Linked DNA regions of Homo sapiens: region 1 is linked to region 2. Evidence: promoter capture Hi-C in human tissues and cell types (Jung and others, 2019). All regions are on one chromosome and are shown on one strand. Each heading gives the region's core, a stretch centred on a gene start or on the middle of the fragment in contact. The rest is flanking DNA. Distances are from core to core; before and after follow the strand shown.

The links. The method cuts DNA at HindIII sites, captures the fragments that hold promoters and counts their contacts. A contact is called where the count stands out against the background at its distance.
Region 1: a fragment that was not itself captured here is called in contact with the fragment with the promoter of PLOD2 in region 2 in 1 of the 25 tissues and cell types used here (aorta).

The regions. Positions count from the first base shown.
Region 1 is chr3:146,115,602-146,118,371 of GRCh38, reverse strand. The region is part of intron 3 of PLOD2 (procollagen-lysine,2-oxoglutarate 5-dioxygenase 2); the gene reads left to right. Among named protein-coding and RNA genes, the nearest start is that of PLOD2, 44 kb to the left of the region's middle. The HindIII fragment of the contact is 5,917 bases long and covers 1-2,770 here.
Region 2 is chr3:146,159,762-146,162,501 of GRCh38, reverse strand. PLOD2 (procollagen-lysine,2-oxoglutarate 5-dioxygenase 2) reads left to right here and starts at 1,318. Exons shown (of 20, transcript NM_182943.3): 1 at 1,318-1,621. The coding sequence starts at 1,513. The HindIII fragment of the contact is 5,771 bases long and covers 1-1,981 here.

The DNA of each region.
Region 1 (2,770 bases), core at 193-2,692, 44 kb after region 2:
AAAGATACATAACACTTGCATCTGTAAAATTTTCCTGTTATATTTTACACAAAATATTAAGTTCTGCTTGTGGTTACCTATTTTGCAAGATGAAGTATGGTAAGGCAAGTGTTAGCCATAGTGTACTGGGAATTTTTCTACAGCATTTGTTATTTTTTTTACACTTAGAAAAAGAATACCAAGTTCATTAAAATAGCTCTGTAGAATAAATACTGGGTATGTTTTGGTTTAAAATTACCATGGATTTCAAACAACCATATTAGTCAGCTTAAACTTGCCACATGTACATTTTCACTTTGGCTCTGAGGCAGATTCTCCTTGTAAGAGTTACTACATGTGAGTCAGAAATGATTTTACATCCTCAAGCTTCCTTTTGGGTTTTAGGAAGAACTTTTCTCTACCATCACTCTCGCATCACCATCCCCCACCTCCGGCCCCCTATCTAATATTTGTCCTTGTGGACAACTGGTATAGTGAGGGACCTATTTTTTTCTCATGAGAAGAAGGACACTGTGATATACCTAAAGCCTGCTTGAGGTTGAGTTTGTTGATTTAGATGATACTTTAGGACCCAGCTTGACAGAAAAGATAATAAAATTTTAATGGAAGACACAGTGTCTTCCAGGCACTGTTAGTGTTTGGGATATATAATGGAAACAAACAGATAAAATTTCTGACATCTCCTGTGAGAACAGCCAGCTAACTGAAAACATGGGTGCCCACTCAGCCAAGTTGTTGTCTAAGAAGAGTCATTAACATTTTCTGCATCATTACCTACCATGACTATCCTGTGGAAAAAACCTAGGGGTCATGAGAAAGTAACCAGGAGGTTAAAGAGGGATGAGCAATTGAAGCCACATAAGAAATTTTTTTTACCCTTCTTATTTTTTAAAAACAACACCCTTTTTAAAAAGTTTATACAGAGTAATGAATCTAGTTGAAAATTGTAATCTAGGGCCTGGGAGAATGAATTAAACTGTTTGTAAATGGTTTGAAATATGATGCCCATTCTGTAACACAATTCCTAAACTCTTAATTAAGGTTAGCTCTGGTAAAGGTCCAGAATTCAGGATATGTTCATTTTAATAAAGCAAAACATTCTTATTTTTTATGTGGTATTTTTAAGGACAACTCAACTGTTTTATGGAAGCATAGGTCACTATCATATGAAAATATACACAGATGTATATACTTAGTGGTTTAGATGAGCCTTTTAAGAAACACAGCTTTGTTAGGGCATAATTTATATAACATGCCATAAACATTTGTAAGTGTAAAATTCAATGAATTTAATTAAATTTACAGAGTCGTGCAGTCATCCCCATTATGCAATTTTAGAATGTTTCCAATACCCCATAATTATCCCGTATTCCATTTAGACATGCTAAAAAGCCTGAATTAATTTAGAAACAATTTTGTCGCATTCCTTCCATGGAATATGTATTCTAAACTTACTTTTGGATGAACGTTTAAAATTAGAAACTGGCTCTTTATAATCTGTAGGGTAAGATTTATTATATTTAATTTAGATAAAAAAATTTAGATATTTGGCAAGGTTTTAGGTTATTCTCAGAACAAAAGGAAAACTGAAGATATCCATATATGAGTGAGACCATCTGATACTGTCTTTTTGTGCATGGCTTATATCATTAACCTAGTAACCTCCAGTTGTAACCATTTTATTGTTGCAAATAACAGGATTTCCTTCTTTTTTATGGGTGAATAATATTCCATTATGTGTGTACTCCGTATTTCCTTTATCCATTCATCTGTTGATACATACTTAGATTTGTTCCATATATTTACTATTATAAGTAGTGTTGCAGTAAACATGGAAGTATAGGTATCCCATTGATATACTTATTTTCTTTCCAACAGCACAACAAAAATATCCCCCATGATCAAGTGGGATTTATCCCAGGAATGCCAGGATGGTTCAATATTTATCTGTTAAAATTGTATTTGTTTTATGCCAACTAACTCCCTTTCCCTCCCTCCAAAATTTATAAAATAATTTTAATCATTTTATTGTGATTTTATCATAATCTGTTGTGCAAAGTCAACTGGGTACGTGGGTGTTTTTAACTGTGTGTGTGCGTGTGTGTGTCTGTGTGTCTGTGTCTGTGTGTCTGTGTCTGTGTGTTTTGAGGGTGGGTGGTTAGGAGTGGATCCATAGTATTGGTTTGTGATGTTAATTATCTCTGGAAATATAGACATATGCTTCAGGTGAAGATATGATGAAAGAATTATCAGGTGTGAAGCTACTTCTGTGCTGCTAATAGTTTGGATGATTATAATTTTTGCTGAAGTTTATGCCAATAATGATAAAGGATTGGGGCTAAATGACAAGGTTAGGGAACACTTCTGTTGCTTTCTTTTTTGGCTATATGGGAGCTTTTGCTTCTTGTTGAGACTCAAGATGATGGATTCTGTGGCTTGTACCACTGCCTGTTTTTGTAAAAAGTTTTATTGAAATGCAGCTGTGCTCATTTGTTTACATATTGTCTGTGGTGGCTTTTGCAACACAGTGACAGAGTTCAGTCACTGTGACAGACAATATGGTCATCAGGACCTAAAATATTTTCTGTAAAAGGCCAGAGAGTAAATATTTACTGACTCCCGCTTTAGGCCATAGTTGAGAACCATTGATACAGTCTGGGAACTGGCACAGAATCATTTTTAAAATAGTTTGTCAGACAGTCTTATTTATGAGTGAGGAAGAGATGGGTAATGTAGAGGTCTCTAGGGTTTTAAAATTAATCTAGCCTTG
Region 2 (2,740 bases), core at 69-2,568:
TCTCAGAACTTTCTCCAGTTTTCCTCTTCTTTTAAAAAACTGAGACCAAACCTTCAAAACAGAGTAATAACTGGCTTAGTTCTGGGCACAGGAAATGATTCTTTCTAAAATGTCACATCCCAGGCAAGATTTCTTTGCAGGGTTTTCCACCTGTTTTTAATGCTATCAAGATGAAAGCATTAAGTTCATGTTATCTTGATATGTTAATTTTAGACAAAACGTGATCATAATGGAACACATTTTTCCATAATTTTCTGTCTTAATTTCAAAGGCCCAGAGTTATAACGGGTGTTGTCTCGATTCTGTTTTTTTCTAATTTCACGAAAATTTAGGCAGGAGATTCCAGAATGGTAGCAGTTTGGTTCTCTTTCTCCTATAAAATAGCTTATGTCATTAAATGTATGAGGCAAAACTGTCAAGCTTTTTTCTTAATTGTGCTTTTGCTCCCACTCATTCCAACAAGTTAAACCCTTGGCTAGTTAAAATGTGAGAACAGAAAAAAGGGAATTTTCTTAGACATCAGTCAAAAGTGGAAGCAGTGGGGGCCAAGGCTCAGAGATCTCGACCTCTCCGACCACGTCTTTGGGAGTAATTTTCCATGCGGACTGGAGCACGATCTTGTAAGCACAGCCCCGGCATTACACACGTTGGGCTCCGATTCCGCAGGATTTACAAGCCTCATTACTGGAAAGAGTCTAAGGCTCTCTTGGCACAAGCGGCGGAGCAAGAAATGTTCACTGGACAATAAAACTTTCGGTTTACGGAGTAAAATAAAATCACGGCCTTCCTTTTACAGGGTGATGAACCTGCCCCTGAATTAATGAGGGGCGATCCATTTCCATGGCTTAAGAGTCTGGCGAGGTCCCAGTCAGCCAAGATTGCCGCAGATTTGCAGTCACTTCAGACTGGGTGGAGTATCCAAGTCCATAGAAGAGCAAATTCTCACCCTTCGAGGCTGCTGTGGAAGCTACCGGGGCTGGGACAGCAGAGAGGAACCCAGACGGGAACACCGCCCTCCCGCCAGACTCCCGGCGGCTCCTCCTCCCTCTCCCAAACCCACTCCCAAAGCTAAGTGCAGGCTTCCCCGTTCCAGCCAGAAGCGCTGCGTGAGCCTCCACACGTAGCCGCAGGCAGCTCCTTAAATAGCGTCCGCGCTGAGCAAACAGTCCAGACGTGGGGCCCAGGAGGGCGAGCTGAGGCGACCGCACCGGGCGCGCAGCGGCGGCGGGTCAGCCGGCGGCCAATAGCCAGGGCGCGGCCCGCCCCGTCGCCTCCCCTCGGGGAGCCTATAAGGCCTCCGCAGCGCCCCGGGCGCCTGCTGCTCCGTGCCTCCACCGACGACCTCACTCAGCTGCGTTACGCGCCGCTCCGGCTGCCGGCCGCGCGCCTTGCCCGCCGGCTCCCGCCCGCAATCGGCGGCTCAGGGCGGACCCGGGTCTCTGCGTTCTCGCGAGAAGCGCGGCGCTGCGGGGCCGTGGGCGCCTGAGCCCGCGCGGCCCTCGAGGGCCGAATATGGGGGGATGCACGGTGAAGCCTCAGCTGCTGCTCCTGGCGCTCGTCCTCCACCCCTGGAATCCCTGTCTGGGTGCGGACTCGGAGAAGCCCTCGAGCATCCCCACAGGTGAGCACCCCGCGGTCCGCCGCTGTCCCGCGAGGCTCGGCCGGCGGGGGGGCAGTTCATTCATCCACCAGCCCTTCCGCGGGGCTGGCCAGGTGAGTAGTGGGGGCCTGTCCCTCCTCTCCAGGACCGCCGGGGTCTTCCCCAGAATTGCGGTCGGGCGGCGCTGGTCCCTGGGGAAGTGTAGGGGCACCCGCCCTCGTTGACTCCTTGGAGTTCTCGGTGAACTCAGCGTGCCCGAATTTCCCTGCAGAACAAGTTGGAGTTTCCTTTTGGACTTGCAGGTCATGGGCACCAACACCTTTCCTGCAGCTCTCCTTTCCCCTCCTTTCCGAGAGTTGGCATGGATTTATCCTTGATGGACGAGGCAGTACTCCTTCTGTGACCTAAACACGGGGCTTAGTGTACTTTCTAATTGATGGTGACACATTCCTTCCAGCACCCCAGGAAGCAGCCGGTAACACCTCCCTCTTGCCAAAAACAACGCTCGCTCGAAAACCTTAGTTGTTTTCAGTAAGGCTGCCTGGCTACCCAGTACCTCCAGGCGGCAGCTTTCTTCCTTTGGGATCTGAAGGGGAAGCTGTGGACACACAGCTGCTCCCCTTACCTACCCTTTTCTTGAGCCCGGTGCTGTCTCTCGTTTTCAGAAGCTGTGTAAAACAAAACGTTTTATATTTAGCCAGATTAAAGAGAGTTTCACCACGTCTGTCTAAACATGCTTTGCTGCCTTTTGTGGCACATGAAAAATCCTTGGAGTTTTCCACATTTGTGCTCTTTGTGCTCAACTCTCTGAAATTAGATCTTGCATTTAAATGACCTTCTAATGTCCTTTTTGTTTTGTTTTGTTTTTTGTTAAGTCATCTTGGCACCATTTTTTCCCCCAAGTTTATAATAGAGTGCTTTTCTACTTGAACTTTTCTTAAGCCTAAGGACAGAAATTTCTATTTCAGAGTTACATTCAGAAAGTGACATTTGGTTTGCAGTCCAGCTAATCCATGTAGCGATAGTTTTGTCTTCATCTTTAAGTGTTTCAGAAAGCGTCAGCAGGCTGAACTGCCTATCTTTCTACAAAACAGTGCTTGCTTTGTTAGCTTGAGAAACTTCAGCATTCAGATGGATTTC